Linked DNA regions of Homo sapiens: all the other regions are linked to region 1. The links are contacts of gene promoters, found by promoter capture Hi-C in human tissues and cell types (Jung and others, 2019). All regions are on one chromosome and are shown on one strand. The core of a region is centred on a gene start or on the middle of the fragment in contact, and the rest is flanking DNA. Distances in the headings are between cores, read along the strand shown. Region 1 holds the start of ESRRA (estrogen related receptor alpha). Region 2 overlaps NRXN2 (neurexin 2). Region 3 overlaps NRXN2 (neurexin 2).

Evidence for each region. Contacts are between HindIII fragments. The study calls those that stand out against the background at their distance.
Region 2: a contact is called between a fragment that was not itself captured here and the fragment with the promoter of ESRRA in region 1, in 1 of the 25 tissues and cell types used here (hippocampus).
Region 3: a fragment that was not itself captured here is called in contact with the fragment with the promoter of ESRRA in region 1 in 1 of the 25 tissues and cell types used here (dorsolateral prefrontal cortex).

What each region holds. Positions count from the first base shown.
Region 1 is chr11:64,304,012-64,307,662 of GRCh38, reverse strand. ESRRA (estrogen related receptor alpha) reads right to left here and starts at 2,139. Exons shown (of 7, transcript NM_004451.5): 1 at 1,927-2,139; 2 at 159-495. The coding sequence starts at 483. It overlaps CATSPERZ (catsper channel auxiliary subunit zeta), which reads right to left. Exons shown (of 5, transcript NM_001039496.2): 5 at 2,893-3,120. The coding sequence ends at 3,017. It overlaps KCNK4-CATSPERZ (KCNK4-CATSPERZ readthrough (NMD candidate)), which reads right to left. Exons shown (of 11, transcript NR_133662.1): 11 at 2,894-3,120. RefSeq lists an enhancer at 1,443-1,512 and a silencer at 1,923-2,432. The HindIII fragment of the contact is 12,153 bases long and covers 1-3,651 here.
Region 2 is chr11:64,707,027-64,710,677 of GRCh38, reverse strand. The region is part of intron 2 of NRXN2 (neurexin 2); the gene reads left to right. Among named protein-coding and RNA genes, the nearest start is that of NRXN2, 14 kb to the left of the region's middle. The HindIII fragment of the contact is 7,389 bases long and covers 1-3,651 here.
Region 3 is chr11:64,666,510-64,670,160 of GRCh38, reverse strand. NRXN2 (neurexin 2) reads left to right here. Exons shown (of 23, transcript NM_015080.4): 8 at 1,557-1,718; 9 at 2,473-2,911. Among named protein-coding and RNA genes, the nearest start is that of NRXN2-AS1, 24 kb to the right of the region's middle. The HindIII fragment of the contact is 7,810 bases long and covers 1-3,651 here.

The DNA of each region.
Region 1 (3,651 bases), core at 890-3,389:
ATACTTCTCAGGGAAAGAGTGTCTCTGGGAGGTAGAGGGACTGGAAACACCAGATTGTTAGCCTCAAGCGGTGCCACAGCCATCAGGGGGCCTATTGCACCCAGCAGTGTACCCAGAGGGTGCAGGGCAAAGGACAGGGGAGTGGGCTGGGGGCTCACCCTGGATGGTCCTCTTGAAGAAGGCTTTGCAGGCCTCACAGGATGCCACACCATAGTGGTAGCCGGAGGCCACGTCCCCACAGACCAGGCAGAGGCGCTTGGGCAGGGAGCTGAGCACCAGCTTCCCACCGCCCTGCTCGCCAGGCCCAGCCCCCTCCCCATCCTCCTCTTCCTTGTGGCCTGGGAGGCAGCGAGTGGGAGCTGGACCAGGGGCCAGGGCCACAGGAGGCTCGGTCTCTGTCTCCGAGGAACCCTTTGGACTGTCAGGGCTGGCCGGCTCTGCCTTGATGTAGAGAGGCTCAATGCCCACCACCTGGCTGGACATGGCGCTGGTCACCTGCACGGAGAGACCCATAGGTTCGCAGGAAAGCACTGGTATGGGGGATGGGAGACACCCTGCCACACGGGTTGCCCAACCTCGGGCCTAGGGCCAGGCTTCCAAGCCCAGCAAGTGGGGAAGAAGGGGGGCAGAGTCCAAGGAAGGACTGCCCAGGAACACTGCCCCCTCCTAGCTGTTGCCATGGAAACAGAGTCTTCAGGGCCAGTAACTGACAGCAGGTCTCCCCCTTGGGAACCTGGGGGAGGCTTAGAAAGCCCCTACTCCCACCCAGGCCAGGGAGCAGGGTAACCGTAGCCCCCAGGCAACCTTCAACCCCACCTGGAATCCCTAGCCAGGAGCAGGATACTTCCCAGTTTTCTCCAGATGTTGGGGGGACCTCTGAGACCCTGCCCTCATCTGGGTATTCTGCATTGGAGAGCAGACCCAAGGCCAGTGGACGTGCTCACACCGAGTTCACACACTCCACTCACCGGGGTGCTCAGGAGCCCCACAAGCCCACGCAGGCTCGCTCTCTGCTGAGGGCTTTCACACTTGCACCGGCCTTCCCAAACCCGTGCTCACTCCTGCTCACACTTGTGCTCACACACTTCTCCTGGAGCGCACACCCCATCCACGAACTCAGTCAAGGCTCATGATCACACACACTCTCACTAGGTCTCCCCACATCCACACGCACAGGCACGGACTCATGAAAACACCTCCAGAGCTTTTCACACCTGACACGCGGCTGCCCTCCTGCCCCAGCATGCCGGTCCCAGGCACACGGCGGGCGCCGCTCCACCTCCTCGCGACCAGCCTGCAGGTCCACTCTTATACTCCCGCTGTCGCAGAGGCCGCCACCTCCCGGGGCGCCGCGTCCCGCCCCCAACCTGCGCACACCTTTGGGAAGTTGCCTAAAGTTGCTACGCCTCCCCCTCCCCGCCCGCGGGAGACCTCTACCAGGTTATCAGGAAGTAAGTGGGGAGAGCCAAGGAGGAGGAAGTTCTCCCCTGCCGGTGCGATGACCTTTGACCCAGAGAGGAGGGTGGCCCCAGGCCCCTTCGAGCGCCCCCACGTGGTCTTCAGAGCCCCTTCCCAGACATAGAGCCCTCCCCGTCTTCCACCCCGGCCAGCCCCAGGGACTTCGGCAAATGCGGGATTGAACCCTGCCCCGGAGCGGGCTGGATCGGAGGCCCAACCCTGACCCGAGTCAGGACCCGCAGCCAGAGCCAGATCCTGCCCCAGGCCGGCCCACCAGGACTCGGACGCCGGATCCCGCCTGAACCCTGACCAGTCCGACCCTCGACTGGGTCCCAACCGTGGCCCGGACTGGCCCCAGAGTCGGACCCCGCCTGCAGCCCGCCCCGCCCGCCTCCCTGCCGCGCTCGCACATGGCCCCCGCGCCCCGCCCGCCCACCCCCGCGGCAGCGCTCCCCTCCGCCCCCGGACCTGGGGCTCCGGCAGCGCGGTCGGGCAGGCATGGGGGCCGAGCGGCCCGGAGTGCCGGAGTGAGCCGGGGGCCGCGGGCGGCCCCTCCTCCGCCGCCTCCTCGGGCCGCGCCGCCCCACCGCGCCGCGTCCCCTCACTCGGCGGCGCCGCCGGCTGCTTGTAGGACACAAAAGGACATCGCGGCCGCTTCCTACTCCGCTTCCTCCAGCTGACAGCGGGGGTGGGGCCGGCCGTGCGCATGCAAAGCAGGGGGCGGGGCCCGGGGTCCTATGCTAATCAGACCAGCGGGGCGGGCGGCGCCTGCGCGCCCGGACGAGTCGGGGCGGAGCCGGCAGCGCCAGTGGGCGGGCCTTCGTGCAGGTCCCGCCCCGCAGCCCGCCGAGCCACTGCGGCGCACATGCGTACGCGGCCCCTGGGAGGGGCGGGGCCGGAGACGCGGAGGGCGGGGACAATAGAGCCGAGAGCAAGTGGGGCCAGAAGCGCTCTTTCGTAACGGAGGAGGCGGGGCTTGCTGCGCGCGAGAGGAGTGGGCGAGGCGGTGCAGGCTGCAGTCGCGGAGCCAAGAGACCACTTACAGATGAAAACGCAAGGGCGGGACGAGCGGAGAGGCTGGACCTGCTACCTATGCTTGAGGGGCGGAGCCTAGCGCGCCGTCGCGAGGAGGGAGGTGCTGCCCCGTTCCCCCTACCCCCTTCCCCCAAAGCGACACCAACTGAGCACTCGAACCGTAGACCCAGTAGCCCCACAGAGCTGCGGAACTCGGGGTGGGTGAAGCCGACTTAAAACATGCAATAAGTCCTGGATTGCGAGTCCCGGAAGGTAGGGCCGATAGGGCCCGGACGGAGAAAGCTCAAGGTCACTGCGGTGACCGAATGAAGGTCACTGCGGTGACCGAATGAAGGTCACGGGGAAGGGCGGGGCCACGTGCGTCCGCCTCACGCGGGCTGTCCTGCACTGACTCACGGACCATGCATCGACTCTTTTATTTCTTTAGGACTCAAATTCCACTCGGATGGGGTCAGGCTTGGGTCTGGGGACCGGGCTGGCACGGGGCTGGTTCGGGTCGCTGCTCGAGCCCAAGGTGGCGTTTTTAATTCACGTACAGCCTCTTGCTCCGGCGCTTCTTGAGCCCTTCGATGTATCGCTGCAGCTCCTTAGTCAGGAAGTGGTCCCTGCCGATCCCTAACTGGTAGCCTAGGAGGAGGGCAGAGCTCGGCTCAGGGCAGTGAGCAACCGAAAGGTCTCCCCACCAGGGGGCGCCGCATGTGTGATTCGAGGAACCGCAGATGATTCGAGGTAGCAGTAGCGCAGGGCACTCAGGTCTGTGTTAGCCTGGGGAACTTTGCATCTCTAAGGGTGCTGAGTGTTAAGGTGGAGGATGGATGAGGTCAAGGCTAGGGAAGAGGTTGCAGGCCTGAACTAGGGCGGTGGTAGCGAGCAGTTTGCCCACCTTCTGGACCAGCCACCCACTCTAAGCCATCAGCTGGCCCTTTATCACCGCTGGGCTTTCCTACCACAGCAGCAAAAGTTCACCCACATAATCCACTGTCCAAAGGCTCCTCACAACTCCCCAACCAGAGGCAGTCGAGGCCACACCAAGGCGGTCATCCCACTGTGCAGGTGGAGAAACAGCCACAGAAAAGCCTCCCTCAGCTGGAGAGGGGCTGCACTCAGCCTGGAGCCCAGGCCTCTGCCCATCACCACATGTCCCCCACTGGGTCTTCC
Region 2 (3,651 bases), core at 723-3,222, 400 kb before region 1:
TTGATCCTCTGGTTCCTCTACCCTTCCCCCAAAGCCTGCCTAAGAAAACAGGATGAATCATCCTCTGATTTGATGGAGGGAAAGCTCGAGCTACGGGAGGTTAGGGTAACCGGTCCCTGGCCTCACTGTGGCTGAATTGGGCTTGGGTGTGTGAAAAATGCAGCCAGAGGCACCTTGGTCAACCAGAGCCTTTGTATCCATTCCCTGAGAGGATTCATTGGCCAGAGGCTTCCAGTGAGGCAAACAAGTGCATGCTTCTGAATACGGGTTGTGTGGTTGTGTGTCTAAGATGTGTTTGAGTAACTGTGTGAGAGGGATGGCTGTGTGTATAATATGGCTTGGTATCAGATGAATGTTTGTGTCAGCTGTGGTGAAGCTGTGAGAGATGGTTGAATATATGTATCTGACCCATTGTGTGTGTGTGTGTCTGTGTGTGTGTGAGAGAGAGTCATGTAAGAAAAAGAAACGTGAGCCAGGTGCAGTGGCTCACGCCTGTAATCCCAGCACTTTGGGAGGCTGAAGCGGGCAGATTACTTGAGGTCGGGAGTTCGAGACCAGCCTGGCCAACATGGTAAAACCCCGTCTCTACTAAAAATACAAAAATCAGCCAGGCATGGTGGCGGGCACTTGTAATCCCCACTGCTTGGGAAGCTGAGGCAGGAGAATTGCTTGAACCTGGGAGGTGTAGGTTGCAGTGAGCTGAGATGGCACCACTGCACTCCAGCCTGGGTGACAAAGTGAGACTCCATCTCAAAAAAAAAAAAAAAAAGGAAGAAGAAAAGGGAAAGTGAGATATAAGGCGGGCGCCAGCTGGTAGGGGCAGGGTTGCTTGTGTATATGTGGAGTGTGTGTGATGTGTGTGTGGTATCTGTTGAGAGAGCAGTGCTTTGTGGTAAAGGGGGAGGGTTGTGTCTTTATTCATTTCTGTATTCCCAGCACCTAATCTGGTACCAGGCACTTAGTGGGTGTTTGATAAAGATTTGTGGAATGAATGGAGAGATATTAATAAGTAATTGAGAGAATAAAGGCTTGAGGCAAAGCTGTATGTACATATGAAAACATGTATGTATATATTTTCAGATATATGTTGTGGGTGGGCATGGGGGTTGTAGGCACTGATTGCATCTGGAGATGACAGGCACAGCAATAACCCTACTGATTCCCTTCTTTTCTCTCCCCACTCTGCAACCTCATTTCTTCTTCTATTTGTTCCTTATTTCCTAGGTAGCTTTTATAATATCTTGTGCTCATTATACTTCGAGTACTTTCTCATCCAGTCAAGGAGGAAAGGCATGGGCTCCCATGGTTGGGTATTGGGGTGAGGAAGGAAGACTTTAAGGGGAGCAGGCCTGGCTCCTGCTCTCTGACACAACTCTAGGGGTCAGAATCCCCAGGCTTCCTTGGAGTTATAATCACTTTATCATCTGTTGTGAATGGTTCCCAACTCTTTCTGAGACTGAGGACTTTTTTTTTTTTTTTTTTTTTTTGAGATGGAGTCTCGCTCTGTGCCTAGGCTGGAGTGCGATGGCACGATCTCAGCTCACTGCAATCTCCACCTCCTGGGCTCAAGCGATTCTCCTGCCTCAGCCTCCTGAGTAGCTGGGATTACAGGCGCCCGCCACTATGTCCAGCTAATTTTTGTATTTTTAGTAGAGACGGGTTTTCACCATGTTGGTCAGGCTGGTCTCGAACTCCCGGCCTCAAGTGATCCGCCCGCATTGGCCTCTCAAAGTGCTGGGATTACAGGTGTGAGCCACTGCGCCTGGCCAACTGAGGACATTTTTAAAAGTCAGTAATTCACAGTACCCCTTCCAGTTATTATTTTTATATCTGTTTAGTGTGAGTATAAATGACTCAAAGCCACTGTGAATTTGGAAAAGCTTTTAGATGACTTTGATATTATATTTGCCATTGTGGTTAATAAAATATACATTAGAAAAATGGTTTTAGCTTTATATGCAAGATGTTTCAATCTGCCTTCAGATGTTTGGTGTGCATACGAATTTGTGTATCCTTTGGAATCCCTCCTGCTCTCCCAGGGTCTGGGCTTACTCATTGACGGAGAACCTCCATGCTAGGAAATTTGCATTTTCTCTCTCTCTCTCAGAGATCTGGCCACACGTAATTGAAGACAGAGCTCAGTGGGAGTGGCTGAGTCTGTCTACCGTTGCTGATTATCTGCCAAAGCTGGGATAGAGTAGACTGGGATCTTGCAGTGGTTTGCATGACAGTGCTTCCTCATGTCACCTGTGTGTGTGGAGAAGGGGCTAAAAAGGGATTAAAGAAGAAGGGATGTGCAGGCATGTGTGTGAGACCTCAGGTGGAGTGATGATGCAGGTGTTCAGGACAGAGTGTCAGGTGTATACTATTTGCTCAGGAGAAAAATAGGAAACTAGTCGTAATGTGTGTGCTTGCAGGGAGGTAGACACACGTGTCTCATGTGTTTTGTGATAGTGATTTAATTCAACAGGTAGTTGCCAAGGCCTCTTTTGTGCTAGGCTGTGTGTTGGGGGCTACAGTGTGGTCAGAGATGAATAAGATGACTCTGTGCTCTGGGAGTTGACTTTTTTTTTTTTTTTGAGACGGAGTTTCGCTCCTGTTGCCCAGGCTGGAGTGCAATGGCACAATCTTGGCTCACCACAACCTCTGCCTTCCGGGTTCAAGCAAAGTGATTCTCCTGCCTCAGCCTCCATAGTAGCTGGGATTATAGGCATGCACCACCACGCCTGGCTAATTTTGTATTTTTAGTAGAGATGGGGTTTCTCCATGTTGGTCAGGCTGGTCTTGAACTCCTGACCTCAGGTGATCCGCCTGCCTTGGCCTCCCAAAGTGTTGGGATTACAGGTGTAAGCCACCACACCCAGTCTGGGAGTTGACTATTAAATTGAGGAAGCAGATAAAAAAGCTGTCCAGTGTGTTGTTAAGAGATTCTGCCTCCAGACTGCCCAGGCAGTGACTTTATACTTAAACTCTCTTTGCCCCCATTTCCTTATCTATAAATGAAGATAATAATGGTACCTACTTTATAGAGTTGTTGTGAAAATTAAATTAGCTAGTTCATGTAAAGTGCTTAGAACAGTGCCTGGTACATAGAAAATGCTCAATACATAGTAGCAAAAAAACAGCACAATAGTGTGTGGCCCAGAGATGCAGTAAAGCAGTGTGGCTTAGTGATTAAACCACAGACTTCTGTGGCTCTGGTCTGGGTTTAAATCTGTCTTCTCTACTCCCTAGGCCCATGACATTAGGTGAGTACCTAACCTTTAGACTCATTTTTCTTTTTTTTTTTTTTTGAGACGGAGTCTCGCTGTCTCCAAGGCTGGAGTACAGTGGCGTGATCTTGCCTCACTGCAAGCTCTGCCTCCCGGGTTCACGCCATTCTCCTGCCTCGTCCTCCTGAGTAGCTGGGACTACAGGCGCCCGCCACCACACCTGGCTAATGTATTTTTAGTAGAGACGGGGTTTCACCATGTTAGCCAGGATGGTCTCGATCTCCTGACCTCGTGATCCACCCACCTCATGATCCGCCCACCTTGGCCTCCCAAAGTGCTGGGATTACAGGTGTGAGCCACCGCACCTGACCCATTTTTCTTTATGTATAAAATGGTGATACATGGCTGGGCACTTGAACCCAGGAGGTGGAGGTCGCAG
Region 3 (3,651 bases), core at 289-2,788, 360 kb before region 1:
AGTGGGGCTTAGCTCTACCCTATTCACTGCGAGGCTCCAGCCAAGCACAAGGGGGACTTGGGGTCCTGGGAGGGCAGGAAGCTCCCTTACCCCAGTTCTGCTCATGTCCCTTTGGAGTTCCTCCACCTCACCCACCGAGACCATGGACCCCTGGAGACCAGTCGCTGGAAGATGGCTGGTGGCATGTGCATATAGACTGGTGTGGGTGAGGAGGGCATAGGATGTGACTGGAAGGCCCCAATCTCTAGACTGTTCCCGAAAGAGAAATGGGGTGAGCTGTGGCCTGCAGAAGCACAGTGTTGGGCTAACCCTGAGCCAGCTTCCTGTTGACCCTGCAGAGCTCTGCCTTCTTTCCCAGCTGACCCTTCCAAACCACTGCCTTCCTAGAGTAGGGGCTCGTGGTCTCATAGCCCTTGGCCCTTCTCCCACAACCTTTCTGGGTGTCTTGAACCTTGTGGGCTGCTTGTAGAGTTAGATTTTTTGGAGAAGGTGGGCATTTGCCTGGGGAGACTGGGAGAGTTGGAGAGTTTCCTGTCCTTGTCATGCCCCGCCCCATCTAAGATTACTTCTGCATTCTCCAGGCCACCGCTGAGCCCCCCTGCCTCCTGGAATACCAAGTACTCCCCCATTCCTGCTCATCCTGCTTTCTTACTGAACTTTCAGCCCAGGGGCAAGGTATTCATTAAGTTAGCCCTGTCCCCGTCTGTTCCCTAAGCTGGCCCTGACTCCCTGGAGTAACTCTAGTGGTGTCAGTAGACAAGGCAATTAGACAGGAAGAAGGAAGAGTGGGTTGATGTAGCTAAAGGGCTCCCCTCTCCTTTGGAGGCAAGAGAGTGACCTGAATATAAGGAGACCTGAGGAGTGAAGAGACAGACTCAGGAAAGGGCTAGAAGTGCAAACCTGGAGATTGGGCTGCAGGGGTGGAAATCAACCCCAATAGGCAACCCCAGAAAGTTTCAAGACTTCCCAGGAATATTTGAGTTCCTGCTCCTCACACTGCTATCTTCCATCTCCCTACTGGGTCCAGACTGAAAGACTTTCCAGCACCCAGCAGAGAGGGCTGCAGGTGAGTCTAAGCCACCAAGGTCTGGGGAACACCATTCTCTGGCACACTTTTGAAAGAAGTTCTGGAGTTACGTGTGTGTCCAGAGAGTACCTTCAGGAGAAGAAAAGTGAGGATGCCATTTGCACCCATCCTGTGCCCCAGAATGGGGGATCCGTCCTGGAGCCCCCATTCCTGTTCAGAGTGCCCTCCAGGAACTACTTCTTGGGGGACCTCATGGGGAGCTCTCCAAGTACCCTTCAGGCTCCTGCCTGCTGAGTTGGGGGCCAGAGGGCAGGTCTTAGCCCACCCTGAAACCATCAAATCTTGTGCTGCCTCCTTTTCCTCATTTCCTCTCTTCCCCCACTGTTCCTCCTCCAAGACAAGCAGACATAAAAATGGGGGTCCCCCTCCCCTGCTGCCCTCTGGCCCCTCCTTTGCCTAGCCGTAGCTCTTCCTAGGGATTTGATGTTGGTTGTCTCCTGTCTTTCTCCCTCCCTCCTGGGCTGGACAGGTGACCATCTCGGTGGACGGGATCCTGACCACCACAGGCTACACGCAGGAGGATTACACCATGCTGGGCTCTGATGACTTCTTCTACATTGGGGGCAGCCCCAACACAGCTGACCTGCCGGGCTCGCCCGTCAGCAACAACTTCATGGGCTGCCTCAAGGACGTGAGTAGGGCTAGGGAGGGGCTGCAGGCTGTTCAGGAGCCCTTTGTCTCCTGTCTTCAGCGTGACTTAGTCTGACCTGGCTAGTTGTCTGGGTCATCTGTTCCTTCCAAGTCCATGGTGGGAGACACCCCCTCTTTAAAACCTAAGGCCCACTGACTCCATCAAGAGGCTTCTCCCCTTTGATTTCCTTGAGCCTTGGAAACCCCTATCCTCATAGAGGACCCTCAAAGGCAGCTGTGGTACAGAGGAAAGAATGCTGGGTATGAAGACTAAAGACCTTGCTTGAGTCCCAACTCTTCCACTCATTGGTTCTGTGACTGTGGTCAAGTCACTTGACTGTCTGATGCTGAGTTTCCTCCTCTGTGGATGGGTAGTCAGTGCCTACTTCATAAGGTTGTGAGGGGCACATGAGAGTGTAAGTGAACATACTTCATTGAGTGGAAAACAGCTACCACACGTCAGTGGCCTTGTCATTATTATGAACTGCAATTTAGTGGGCACTGAGAACCCACAGGCAAGCCACCATGCTCCTGCTGGGCCAGAAGACAGGACAGAGGACGGGCAAGGGAGGTGCTTGTTCACAGCCTCTGTGTCTGAAGCTGTAGAACAGAGGCCTAAGCGGGTGGTCTGGTGGAACTGAGCAGGGGCTACAGGGGTGGGTGGCTGGGTCCCCTGGTGCTCGCTGCTGGGTGGGAGTGGCCAGGCCCTAAGCTGCTTTCGGATTCTTTATCCCTGACCCCACCCCTCCCTGCAGGTGGTCTATAAGAACAATGACTTCAAATTGGAACTATCCCGCCTGGCAAAGGAAGGGGACCCCAAGATGAAGCTGCAGGGGGACTTGTCATTCCGCTGTGAGGATGTGGCTGCCCTGGACCCTGTGACCTTTGAGAGTCCCGAGGCCTTTGTGGCGCTGCCCCGCTGGAGCGCTAAGCGCACTGGCTCCATCTCCCTAGACTTCCGCACCACCGAGCCCAATGGGCTGCTGCTCTTCAGCCAGGGCCGGCGGGCTGGGGGTGGAGCTGGCAGCCACAGCTCTGCTCAGCGGGCCGACTACTTTGCCATGGAGCTATTGGACGGCCACCTCTATCTTCTGCTGGACATGGGATCTGGGGGCATCAAGCTGCGGGCATCCAGCCGCAAGGTCAATGATGGCGAGTGGTGTCACGTGGACTTCCAGAGGGATGGGCGAAAAGGTCAGGAGGCCTCTGGACCCTTCCCCTTCCATGGGCCACCCCTTTCCATCTGCCCTGACATCCTCTCCGTCTCTCTTCAGCGGGTCTCTTCTACACCATTTCCTATATTCTTCCCTGCCGCTTCTCCTCCACCCCCCTCACGTCTTCCCAATTGTCCTTTCTGTCATCGGACATTGGCAGAAAGAGCACAGCATTTGGCATCAGTCAGACCTGGATTACACCTCAGCTCCCCTACTTGCTGCATGTGAGACTCTGTTTCCTTATCTGTAGAAGGAATAACCCCACAAGGGCCATCGAGAGGAGAAAATAAGAGCACATCTGTGGAAGCATTAGCACAGTGGCCAACATAGAGTAGATACCCCATTCACCTTTAAGAATATATCTTCCGGCCGGGTGCGATGCCTCATGCCTGTAATCCCAGCACTTTGGGAGGCGGAGGTGGGCAGATCAGGAGGTCAGGAGATCGAGACCATCCTGGCTAACACGGCGAAACCCCATCTCTACTAAAAATACAAAAAATTAGCTGGGTGTGGTGGCGGGCACCTGTAGTCCCAGCTACTTGGAAGGCTGAGGCAGGAGAATGGCGTGAACCTGGGAGGCGGAGCTTGCAGTGAGCCTAGATTGTGCCACTTCACTCCAGCTTGAGCGACAGAGCGAGACTCTGTCTCAGAGAAAAAAGAATATATCTTCCCAGCCATGCCTCCCTTCTGTCTAGAGCCATTCAACTTAAAAAAAAATTA